2 separate regions of the Homo sapiens genome follow, and region 2 is linked to region 1. The links are contacts of gene promoters, found by promoter capture Hi-C in blood cells and fetal thymus (Javierre and others, 2016). All regions are on one chromosome and are shown on one strand. The core of a region is centred on a gene start or on the middle of the fragment in contact, and the rest is flanking DNA. Distances in the headings are between cores, read along the strand shown.

Region 1 (6,265 bases), core at 111-2,610:
GAATGACTGGTAACTTGGACACTGGTTCTTTGGGACCGTATTTGTCAAAACTTTCCGAGCTCCTATCACCTCCTCGCCTTTTCCCTTGCATTCTCTGATTCCCCCTCCGCGCGCAGCTCTTTCTTAAGAGCCTCCATTGTTCTACTTGTGGGAAATAGGCGAGAAAGATTATTTCCAAAGCGTTTCTATGTTTCTGAATCTTCCTCCCAAATTTTTATCTCACTTTTCTGGCACGAAAATGAGTAGGGTTAGAGACAAGGATGTTCTGAAGACAGAGTGTTCTGATGCACTCAGATCTCTACATTCCAAATCCCTCACCCTAGGGTAGCCAAATAGCAGAGCCCACCACTTCTCTGAAAATGGTGATGACAGAGATAGGGGGCAGGGCAGAAATGTCCAAAACACTCCTGCCACCTCCTCCCTCCCCACATACACAGAAAGCCCACATTTTTCTGCAATGCAAGAGACAAATTATTTCCAAACCCGGTAACATTTTTGGTCTTGCTGCTACCTCATCTCAATCCTCCTACTTCAGAAGCCACTCCTCCTGGATAGGGAGCTGATCCCCAGATCAAACCTCTGTCTCCCTTTTTCTACAGCACCTCCTTCCCCTGACCCCCTTAGCCCACCGTTTCCGGCTCCAAAATGGAGGGAGGTTGGAGAAAAGACACAGGGAACTCAGGCCTGGACCCGTTGCAGGGTCCGCCCTCAGCAGCCTGGGGTCACTGACTGTGCCCGCCTCCCGCTGCCTTGCAGGGATCAGGCCGTTTTCTCGCCGTTTCGTCGCTGTTCTCTTCCCTGGTCCTCCTCCTCCTCCATCAGACATCACCCGGTCGCCGGCTTCCTAGGAGTTCCCAACTGGTACCCAATTCTCAACCCTTGACCTCTCTCGAGTTCCGCCCCCCTCCCCCCTCCCCGCCCCGCACCAAGCCCTCCATTTCTTGCACCAAATGAGTGAGCATCGGGAAAGGAGTGGAGAGAATCCAGTCCTGGACCCGCTCTGGTCTTTGCCCTCTGCCATCCCAACCACAGGGATCCACAGGCTGTGGATGGGTTCGTAGCCATCTCGGGGAAATGACTCTTTCTCACATTTCCTTCTGCCAGAAGCCTGCACTTCTCCAGGGAAATAAAAGCTGGTACCCATACCTCTTGCCCAACACAAAAAAATTTCTGCGCCAAAATGAATGGGGGTGGAACAGGGCGGTATCTAGAAAGCAGATCCGATCCTCTGTAGCCTATGTGCATTACCATCCCTACCTCAGGGGTCCCCGGCTTGTACCGACCTGCAGGGCTGTAGGGCAGTTGCCTTCTCTGTCCTTCAGTCTGAAGTCTGCCTTCCTCCACGGAAACAGGGATCTGGTACCTGGAGGAGAGGGACTTCTGCACACGTCGGCTTCAGATCACGTGAGAAAAACGTCACCAGTGGGCTCGGGTCCCTAGTTCCCCTCCCACCCGCAGAAAGTGCGTCAGGAGCCAGCCCACTTCTTCCCTTCACTAGTCTGTCCGTCTGAGCGCCCTCAGCACCCCCAACCCCGGCTTAGCTCTCTCTCTCGCCCCACAGCACGGGGCCCTGTCACTCATTTTGGTCTTTGCTAATCCCACAGGTCAAATGTGGCCCTTTCTCTGTGTAGTATGTATTTATTCTTCCGTGGTTATCAGGGAGGGACCGCACCTTCTTCTAGAGCTATTGGCCATTGGTACATCTCAGAGGAATTTTTTTTCTTTCTCTCCTTTTATCCGAAGGCACCTACTCGATCTAATTCTACACGCAGCCACTGATGTTCATTCTGCCTGTGAACCAGACCTTCTCATAATGGGTACAAGGTGGATTGTCAAGTAGGGACACAAGTAGTTAAAATAGGGGTTTTATTTTTTTAAATTTTTTTGATCTTATTTAATTCACTCTCCTCAGCATGGGTTATTCTTATAAGCACAAAATTAAATAAAGCTATTTCATTTATGAGAAAGTGTTTAAGAGAGAGAAAAACTTAAAAGATTTCAAAATTTTCTACTCAGAAGAGAGACCAAATTAGGTTCATAATATTAACTTTTGCCATATACACAAGGAATTCAATTGGCAACAAGCAAAATATACATTAGAAATTTTTCATAAATAGCTGGTTCTCTCACGTTCTATTTAACACACACACACACACACACACACACACACACACACACACACACACACATTTAATGTTCCCAAACGATTACTGAGTGCTAAATAGACTTGCTGGAATCTGATGGTTGAAAGAAAATTCAAAAATGTCTCTTTAAAAAATTTGGCTCATGGCTATTTTCATTCAAATGTTTAGCTCTAGGGGAAGGGAAGAGCTGTGAGACCAAGGCTGCAGGAGATGTGAAGGATGCAGAAATGGTCCTATCCTCCCTGCCCTGCCAAGATCAGGGGAAGGTGTTCTTCTCCACCCCCTCATATTCTAGAATTTCTCATCCCCTGCATTTCTCATCCCCAGGCACATGACTCTGTTGCTCAAGAGTCATCTGTCCAAGAATATAACTGGACAGGTGACCAAGGTGGTGATATGAGTAAATGCCTTTGGCTCCTTCCCTCCTCCCTCCCCCTAATTCCCACAGGGATAACCCAGCCCCAGCACAGAGTGGAGCATTGTTCATGCCTCTAGAAAACTAGAACAGATCTCTTCTAGACCCTTGCAGCTGAGGGTGTTCATGAGGCCTGAAGTGATTGCTGGGGTAGAGTCCCCTGCAACCTGCCTGCTCTCTGCCCTTATTCACAGTGCCTGAGTGGAAGCCTCCCTAGACCCTGTCTGTTACCTCCCGCCTAGCCTAAAAAGTGCAGTCTGGCGGGCCTCTCACCCCCAAACTCTGTATCTTCAGGGAACCCAGAGGGAGCCTAACCTTGCTGCAGGATTGCTGCCTGCCAGTCCATACTAACCTATGACTGTCTCAGCAAATTTAGGCCAGTGTCTAAGGAGTTCTGCCATGCTGTCCATATTGACCTAGACCAAGTATTCCCAATTGATGAAGTCTGTGGGCCACCTGAAAGGGCATGTAAAATTGCATATGTTTAGGAAGTAGTGGAGTATGCACACTCTTGTGAGAAGAAGATCTGTACCCTAGGAGCCTGAATAGTGTTTTGTTCTATTTGCACACCCCATTCTGTTTATCCATCATATGTTGATGAATATTTAGGCATTTTCATCTTTTAGCTGTTATAAATAATGCTGCCATATACAATCACGTATAAGTTTTTGTGTGGATGTATGTTTTTATTTTATATAAGCAAGTTGACATCATGAAAAAGAGGAAACCATAAAGGACAGAAAGAAGAAGCTACTTGACAAAGAGATAAGAAGGGGAAGACACAAATAGCAGCTGAGCCATGTTAAAGAGAGCTCATCTATTCCTTGGGTTCAGGCATTATTAAACTATGAATCCCCTAAAATTATGTTCAAACTTGTGTGTGTGTGTGTGTGTGTGTGTGTGTGTGTGGTCGTGGTTTCACTCTGTTGTCCAGACTAGAGTCCAGTGGTGCATTTATAGTTCACTGTAGCCTTCAACTCCTGGGCTAAAGGGATCTTCTCACCTCAGCCTTCTGAGTAACTGGGACTACTGGTGCACGCCACAACTCCCAGCTAATTTCTTTAAATTTTTGTACAGACAGTGTCTCCCTACATTGCCCAGGTTGGTCTCCAATTCTTGACCTCAAGTGAGCCCCCTGCCTCAGCCTCCCGAAGCACTGGGATTACAGGCATGAGCTGCCGCACCCAGGCTGGATATATACATTTTTATTGTATGTGCACATTTGCTGAGAATAGGTTCCGTTGCTCTCATTAGATGTTCAAAGGGGTATGTAATATTAAAAAGATGAAGGCCATTGACCCAAAGAATATACTTCTGTATACATTTTTTTCAAATCGTGCTATCTTTATTCTCTATTTAAAAGAGAAATTCACATAACATAGAATTAACCATTTTAAAGTGTACAGTTCAGTGACATGTATAGTACACTCAAAATATTGTGTAACCATCCCCTCTATTTAGTTCCAAAACAGTTTCATCAATCTGAAAAGAGACCCCATACCCATTAAGCAGTCATTCTCAATTCCCTTTTCCCCCTAGTCCCTAGCAATGACTTATCTGCTTTCCATCTTTATGAACTTACCTATTCTAGATATTTCCCATAAATGGAATTGTACAATATGTGACCTTTTGTGTCTGGCTTCTTTCACTTAGCATAATGTTTTCAAGGTTCATCTACATTGTAGCATGTGCAATACTTCATTCCTTTTTATGAATTAATATTTCATTTTATGTGCATACCACACTCTGTTTATCCATTTGTATGTTGATAGATATTTGGATTGTTTTTGCCTTTTGGCTGTTATAAATAATGCTACCATAAACAATTATGTATAAGTTTTTGTGTGGGTGTATGTCTTTACTTCTCTTGCATATATAGCTAGGAGTGTAATCATTGGGTCATATGGTAATTCTATGTTTAAATTTTTGAGAAACCGCCAAACTGTGTTCCACAGTAACTGCAACATTTTGCATTCCTATCAGCAAGACTCCAATTTTACCATATCCTTGCAAACAATTGTTAATTTCTATTTTTTATGTTTATCATCCTAGTGGGAGAGAAGTGGTTTTGATTTGCATTTTCTTAATGACCCATGATGTTGAGTATCTTTTCTTGGGTTTGTTGGATATTCGTATATTTCCTTTGGAGAAATATCTATTCAAGTGCTTTGCCAATTTTTATTTTTTATTTTTTAAATTTTATGTTAGGTTTGGGGACACATGTGCAGGTTTGTTTCATAGGTAAATTGCATGTCACAGGGGCTTGGTATACACTTTATTTCATCAGCCAAATAATAATCATAGTACCTAATATGTAGTTTTTTAATCCTCATCCTCCTCCCATCCTCCACCCTCAAGTAGGTCCCAATATCTATTGTTCCCTTCTTTGTGTTCAGGAGTTCTCATCATTTAGCTCCCACTTGTAAGTGAGAACATCTGGTATTTGGTTTTCTGTTCCTGCATTAGTTTGCTGAGGATAATAGCCTCCAGCTCCATCCATATTCCTGCAAAATACATGATCTTGTTCTTTTTTTATGGTTGCATAGTATTCCGTGATGTATATGTACTATATTTTCTTTATCCAATCTGTCATTGATGGACATTTAGGTTGATTCCATGTCTTTGCTATTGTGAATAGTGCTGCAGTGAACATTCGTGTGTATATGCCTTTATGGTAGAATGATTTACATTCCTCTGGGTGTATACCCAGTAATGGAATTGCTGGGTCAAATGGTAGTTCTGTTTTTAACTCTTACGGGAATCGACACACTGCTTTCCACAGTGATATTGAGCTTGCATGTATGTCTTCTTTTGAAGTGTCTGTTCATGTCCTTTGCCCACTTTTTAATGGGGTTGTTTTTCCTCTTGCAAATTTGTTTAAGTCCCTTATACTTGCTCGATATTAGACCTTTGTCAGATGCATAGTTTGCTAATATTTTCTCCCATTCTGTAGGTTGTCTGTTTATTCTGTTGATAGTTTCTTTTGCCATACACAAGCTCCTATGTTTAATTAAATCTCGTTTGTCAATTTTTGCTCTTGATGCAATTGCTTTTGGTGTCTTTGTCATGACACCTGTGCCCATTTCTATGTCCAGGATGGTGTTGTCTAGGTTGTCTTCCAGGGTTTTTATAGTTTTGGGTTTTACATTTAAGTCTTTAATCCATCTTGAGTTGATTTTTGTATATGTTGTAAGGAAGCAGGGATCCAGTCTCAATCTTCTGCATATCCTTACCCATTTTTTAATTAGGTTGTTTGGCTTTTTGTTGTTGAGTTGTAATAGTTCTTATATATTCTGGATATTAGTTCCTTATTTGATATATGGTTTGTAGATATTTCCTCCCATTCTATAGGTTCTCTTTCACTTTCTTAATAGTGTCCTTTTATGCACAAAAGTTTTTCATTTTGAAGAAGTCCAATTCATCTATTTTTCTTTTGTTGTTCATGGTTTTGGTGTCATATCTAAAAATTTATTGCCAAATCCAAGGTCATGAAGATTTACCCCTTTGCTTTCTTCTAAGGGTTTCATAGTTTTAGCTCTTGCATTTAGGTTTTTGATTCATTTTGAGTTAATTTTTATATGGTGTAATTTAGGGTTGTTTTATAAGATTTTAAGATTATTTTGATGGCAGGACACAACACACGGTCACTTGGAAAAATGAAAGGAAGAACTTTTGTTACTTATGGCTCCAAACTAGAGAAGGCTAC
Region 2 (7,136 bases), core at 2,781-5,280, 220 kb after region 1:
ACTTGCTTAGTTCTGATTGGTTGACATAGGTGAAAGCTTATTGGTTGGTTCAAGCACCATAAAAAGGAACAGGCAGCTATGAAAGTCCCAAAGTTAAGCAGACTTTCAGGTTTTCTGGGAACTCGAAGTCATGTGTGACCTCTACTCAGCAAATGGCCACTTGGCTCTAATTTGAATTTAGGCCCAGTTAAACACCCAGGATTTATCTTGAAGGACTGGTTCTTTCAGGCTTCACAAGGCCCAGAAGTAAAGGAAGGGAATTATCAGAATAGCAGTTCTTTTTACCATATCCTTATCCACATCCTTCCTTACATTCTGAAGATAAACTTGTTCAAGGGAAATTGTTTGTGCAAACAGTGTGTCCATATGTAGGTTTTTGATAAATATTGCCACACTGACACTCATCAAGGTAGTGCTATTTAGACTCCCTAAGTGAAGTCATGCAAGAAAACACACAGGGGAGTGAAGAAAGTAATAGTAATGACATCCTGTTAGACAGTAAATGCCCTATACTTTGTTGTAGACCTACTCTCAAGCCATTGCCACAGTTGGAACATGTGGAAGTGATCAGATGAAAATCAAACTTTACACCCGAGTAAAACCCGAAGTAACATGTGGGATAGTGTTAGGAGGGGAAAATCCTTGGAGGAACATATGACAAAGAGTCAGCAGGGCTGGGATACAGCTACCGTTTTACATGCATTCACATTTATATAAAAGATGTACATCACAGCCTTTGTATGAAAAAGTTTGGTCACTACTGTGGTACAACAGAAGACCAGGGCAATATCATATTTTTAAACGGCTTTCTTGTAGTATAATTTATGGACAATAAAATGCATGCTTTTGAAGATAGAATTTTGTGATTTTTAGTAAATGTATAGAGTTGTGCAATGATCTTCATAATTGAGGGTTTTAAAATCTTTTATTTTTAATTTTTGTGGGTACATAATAGGCATATATATTTTTGGGGATACATGAGATTTTGGTACAGGTAGGGAATGTGTAATAATCACATCATTAAAAATTAGGTATCCATCCCCTCAAGCATTTATCCTTTGTGTTACAAACAATTCAATTATACTCTTTTAGTTATTTTGAAATGCACACTTAAATTATTATTGACTATTGTCCCCCTGTTGTGCTACCAAGTACTAGGTCTTATTCATTCTTTCTAATTTTTTTATACTCATTAACCATATGCACCTCCCCTCCAGCCTGCCACCATCCTTCCCAGCCTCTAGTAACCATCCTTCTAGTCTCTACCTCCATGAGTTCAATTGCGTTCATTTTTATCTCCCACAAATAAGTGAGAACATGCAATGTTTGTCTTTCTGTGCCTGGCTTATTTTACTTAACATAATGACTTCCAGTTCCATCCATGTTTTTGCAAATGACTGAATCACATTCTTCTTGATGGCTGACTAGTACTCCGTTGTGTATGTGTACCACATTTTCTTTATCCATTCATCTCTTGATGGACACTTAAGTTGCTTCCAAATGTTAGCTATAGTGAACAGTGCTGCAACAAACATGGGAGTGCAGATGTCTCTTTAATATACTGATTTCCTTTCTTTTGGGTATATACCCAGCAGTGGGATTGCGGGTCATATGGAAGTTCAATTTTTAGTTTTTTTGAGGAACCTTCAAAATGTTCTACATAGTGGTTTTACTAACTTACATTCCTACCAACAGTGTACAAGGTTTCCCTTTTCTCCACATCCTTGCCAGCATTTGTTATTGCCTGTCTTTTGGATATAAGCCATTTTAACTGGGGTGAGATGATATCTTGTTGTAGTTTGGATTGGCATTTCTCTGATGATCAATGAAGTTGAGCACCTTTTCATATGCCTGTCTGCCATTTGTATGTCTTCTTTAGAGAAATGTCTATTCAAATCTTTTGCCCACCTTTTAATCAGTTTAGTTATTTTTGCTATAGAGTTGTTTGAGCTCATTATATATTCTGGTTATTAATCCCTTGTCAAATGGGTAGTCTGCAAATATTTTCTCCCATTCTGTGGGTTGTCTCTTCACTTTGTTGATTGTTTCCTTTGCTGTGCAAAAGCTTTTTAACTTGATGTGATTCCATTTGTCCGTTTTTGCTTTGGTTGCCTGTGTTGGGGTATTACTCTAGAAATCTTTGCCCAGACCAATGTCCTGGAGAGTTTCCCCAAAGTCTTGTAGTTTCATAGTTTGAAGTCTTAGATTTAAGCCTTTAACTGATATTGATTTAATTTTTGTATATGGCAAGAAATAGAGGGTCTATTTTCATTCTTCTGCGTATGGATTTCCAGATTTCCCAGCACCACTTATTGAAGAGACTGTCTTTTCCTCAGTATAGGTTCTTTGTTGAAAATGGGTTCACTGTAGGTGTGTGGATTTGTTTCTGGGTTCTTTATTCTGTTCCACTGGTCTATGTGTCTGTTTTTATGCCAGTACCATGCTGTTTTGGTGATATAGCTCTGTAGTATAATTTGAAGTGAGGTATTGTGATTCCTCCAGTTTTGTTCTTTTTGCTCAAGATAGCTTTGGGAATTCTGGGTCTTTTGTGATTCTATATGAATTTTAGGATTGTTCTGTTTCTGTGGAGAATGTCATTGGTATTTTGATAGGGATTGTATTAAATCTGTAGATTGCTTTGAGTAGAATGGACATTTTAACAATATTGATTCTTCCAATCAATGAACATGAAATACTTTTCCATTTTTTGGCGTCATCTTCAATTTCTGTCATCAGTGTTTTATAGCTTTCATTATAGAGGCCTTTCACTTCTTTGGTTAATTCCTGTGTATTTAATTTTATTTATGGCTATTGTAAATGGGATTACTTTTAAATTTATTTTTTAGATTGTTCACTCTTGGCTGGCATATAGAAACACTACTGATTTTTGTATGTTGATTTTGTATCTTGCAACTATACTGAATTTGTTTATGAGTTCTAATCGTTTTTTGATGGAGTCTAGGTTTTTCCAAATATAAGATCATGTCATCTGCAAACAAGGATAATTTGACTTCTTCTTTTCCAGTTTGGATGCCCTTTATTTCTTTCTCTTGTCTGATTGCTGTAGCTGGGACTTCATCGTTGAGTTTTAGACATTTTCATCACCCTAAGATTACCCATCCTGCTTGAATGCAGTTAATCCCTGTGCCCACCCCCAGCCCTAGGCAATCACAGATATGCTTTGTTTCTCTGTGGATTTGCTTGTTTTTGACATTTTATATAAGTGAAATCAAACAATATTTGGTCTTTTGCATCTGGCTTCTTTCACTTTACATAATGTTTTCAAAATCTGTGTTGCAGCATATATCAGTTCCTCATCCATATTTATTGCTGAATATACCACATTTTATCCATGTATCAATTGATGAGCATTTGGGTTGTTTCCACTCTTTGGCTATTTTGAATGATGATCCTGTATACATTCAGGTACAAGTTTTTATGTAGGCATATTTCTTTTGGCTATGTACCTAGGGGTGGAATTGCTGTGTCATATGGTAACTCCCTGTTAACCATTTGAGGTATGGCCAGACTATTTTCATAAGCTTGATTTCATGAGAAGTACAGGCATAACTTGTTTTTCTCATTATTAGACTGAGGTTATGGGTTTTCAGAAGGAATACCGCAGAGATGAATTGCCCTTTTTATCACACCATATATGGGTTTACATGCTACCCATATGATATCAATGGTGATGTTAACCTTCATCACTTGGTTAAGGTACTGTTTGCCAAATTTCTCCAGTGTGTGGTAACTATTTTACATTCCTATACTCTTTTCTGTAGAAGTAAGTCACTAAGTCAGCCCTGTTCTTAGGAGGTAGAGGACAGAATTAAACTTCACCTCATGAACTGAGGGTTAGCCACATATATTGTTTAGAATTATTTGATTGAGACAATTTGTCTTCTCTGACCCATTTCTTTGTCAATGGAAACACTTAATTTATATCAGTATGGAATCATGTACACTTATCATATAGTTGTGATAGTTTACCAAATGGAAACATTCCAAAAGGAATTCCAGAATTATGATTTGTGTGGTGCAGTAGAAGAATTCTGACCTAATCAGGAGACTGCAAGAGTTCCCTCTATCTACTATTATATTTCACCACCATTATATTACCAAATTATGGCATATTAAACAATCAGACAATGCTTTTAGGCAATATATTTAACCACGACAAATTTTGAAACAACATTTTAATTTCAGGCGATTACATTGCATACTTAGTAATTCCTTCAGAAAGAAATAAAACAATAAACAGAATTTATTGAAGTGATCATAAAAATATTGCTAACATGCAGTAAATCTATTTGCAAAATTCCTTTTATTGAAGCAATAGTATGGGATATGTTGGGGAAATGTTGTACTTCAACTGATAGCACAGTTCCTGTAGCACAGCCTTCACGTTATCTGACTGACTCTTATGGAAGCTATTTTACAATGCTAGCTTTTAGGTAAATATAGCATTGCAATATAATCTTTGTCTATACAAAAGCAACTGAATTTTGTCATTGCGGGGGAAGCTTTGTCTCCATATAGATGTTCATTTTAACACTCTTGATCTATAAATGGGACAAAGGGGTGGCTGTTGGTTTTGATGGGGTTCATTTCAACAGAGGGGTGCGGGAACAAAGCACCATTAGATGAGGAATGAGGACTGAGGTGGAGGGAGGTGCAAAGGGATGTGAGTTGAGTATTGAGAATTCTTCATAGAACTTTGGTTGCAATGGGAGAATATATGTAAAGAGAACAGTAACTAGGGTTGTAGAGAGAGGTCTAGGGTTTTAAATTATGTTTTAAAATTATCAATGATAAGAGGCTCTCTCAGGGTGGAAATATTAAGGAGAAGGAGCCATCTCTTCTTAGGTCTAGAAACTGAGTTTACCACAACCCCCTTACTTCCTTGTTTCTATTCTGGGGAAGTCTAAAACTTAACCAGAGGGATGGTGTCATTTGACTTTAATGCCTGTTAACTATGGGGATGGATAGATGGATGGATGGATGGATGGATGGATGGACAGATGGATGGATGGATGCACGATGTGTCAAACAGGTGCTGGTATTTTATCTTCCAGCACTGAGCTCCTCACACAGGTGACTGAACCCGTGGTTTTGGTGTCTGAGAAGATGCAGCTTCTCCAGTCTCTGCAACTGACGGCAGGAAGATGGGAGCACTCAGCTTCAGTGTTCAGAAGCAGATTTAGGCCAATTGCCATACCTTACGTTCTGGAGGGATCCACCCTGACCTGAGCAGGTGAGGTCACAGAAAGGCTTGCTGTCCATCACAGGGACAGGATTACAGCCTGCTCAGAAGCATGTTGTGGTCCAGCTCTTGTGTCACTTAAAAAGACTCCAGCTCTTCTCTAATATTGAATTCAACTAATATCACAGAGAGATGTTCTTAATCTTCTAGACAAACACACTGCCATCAGTATTCCCCAGAGGCCACAAACACACCCTGGAACCATAATGCCACCAGTAGCTCTAGGAGAACTTGCAGGCTAATGTGCCTGTTGCTCATTGTTTTTAGGCTACATATGAAAATGGACCAGTTTGCAATAAAAATATAATGCAATGATGATTATCAGAGCATTTTGTATACTAGGGAATTTTTTAAGTTATCTGAACATCAAATTAAATATAATGACAATGAAAGAATTTCCACCTGTCATATCATCAAAGTATAAAAAGAAACCATTCAGGATTCCAGTAAGGTGGGCATGCGGGGAAGCCTACCCTGTTTCATATTGGTGGTGGGGATGTCATTTAGTACAACCTCTTTCAAGGTTGATTTGGTAATTTCTATTAAAGACTCTATGCATCCCCGATCTGCATGTGTTTGGGGCCTGCTCCTTCAAGTATTCACCCTCAGCATGGCCCCTGTCCCTCTGAGAGTGCATATTCTTCCTGATACAGGAACTGTCTGCGGACTCGTTTCTAAAGCAATGGCCCAGACACACTCCCTTGTCTACAGAGTAGGAAATTTAGGTCTGACAAGGTTCTCTGTCTTTCATAAGAGAGACAGAACTGGCAGCCTGGCTTCAGAGCTGAAGATACAGATTTCAGTAGTGACCCAGGTCAGCAGGAAAGCAAGATTTGCTTGGTTATGTTGTGATGTGCAGCTCAGCATCACAGTCTGCCTGGGGGCATATAGGATGCTAGTCTCTGCTTTTCCACTTAGTGGCAGGATGCTCCCCAGCCAGGTTGCTTAACCTGCAAACATCCCTGTTTCTTAAGCTACAGGATGGTGTAGAGATTATATCCTCTACCTCCCAGGAATGTTGTGGGAAATTCATGAGATAGAAAAGTACCAGCGTTCAGGAAGGGTGAGTCCCCACAGCTCCGTGAGGCCAGAGATACTGCCCTTCTGCGGGACTTTGTTACAATCACCCTATGACAATGCACAAATAAATGGTCATTCAATTACAAAAGAGTACAAGGACTTATATTTACTCAGTTCATCCAATATCAATTATTATAATAATCAACAGTGTAAATTGGAAAGTAACTACGTGGAAACCACTTCTCCTTCTTTCCCATCTAAGGTCTCAGAAGTGCTTTCCCAGATGTGATCTCATTAACCTCTATATTGATCTGAGAGGTGTTAACCAAAACTGGCCAGCACAGGGGAAATGACTCACCTAAGGCCTTATAATGGGCCTGCCCCGCCATGTTCTATTGCATTGTTTTTCTGCAAAGCCTCATCTTGCGGGGTTACACTATACATATTTTTCCTCTCTTTTCGTTTTACCAAAGAGAAAAATATATACTTTTTTACTGTTAAGAAACATTTTCTCAAATAAGTACGTATTTCATTCCTTACTGAAATGGTTTTTTCTTATTGATCCATTGAAACCATATTGGCTATGTTCAACATAACTAGAGATATCTTTGGTGTTTTCCTCCCTTAGCTTCATATCTTGTAGAACATCTCGTACAAAAAAAGTAGATTTACAGAAAAACATACATATAAATCACGTATTAATCCCCAAATGTAGTAAATAACATAGCAAAAACTTTATCAAATCCATTTCATGCACAAGCTGGACAGATCTGTTATATACAATCTCTATATGCATCTGCAGTGTTTTATAAATTGGTGCTTTGACATTAAAAAGGAGGTTTACAAAAAGGCC

What was found. Contacts are between HindIII fragments. The CHiCAGO score rates a contact against its expected background, and 5 or more counts as called.
Region 2: a contact is called between a fragment that was not itself captured here and the fragment with the promoter of TCEAL5 in region 1, in 1 of 17 cell types (naive CD4 T cells). The highest score is 5.1, in naive CD4 T cells.

The regions. Positions count from the first base shown.
Region 1 is chrX:103,275,390-103,281,654 of GRCh38, forward strand. It overlaps TCEAL5 (transcription elongation factor A like 5), which reads right to left and starts at 1,361. Exons shown (of 3, transcript NM_001012979.3): 1 at 1,284-1,361. The HindIII fragment of the contact is 11,652 bases long and covers 1-6,265 here.
Region 2 is chrX:103,492,360-103,499,495 of GRCh38, forward strand. All of the region lies in intron 5 of LL0XNC01-250H12.3 (a long non-coding RNA gene), which reads left to right. RAB40A (RAB40A, member RAS oncogene family) reads right to left here. Exons shown (of 3, transcript NM_080879.3): 3 at 6,771-7,136. Among named protein-coding and RNA genes, the nearest start is that of RAB40A, 24 kb to the right of the region's middle. The HindIII fragment of the contact is 981 bases long and covers 3,541-4,521 here.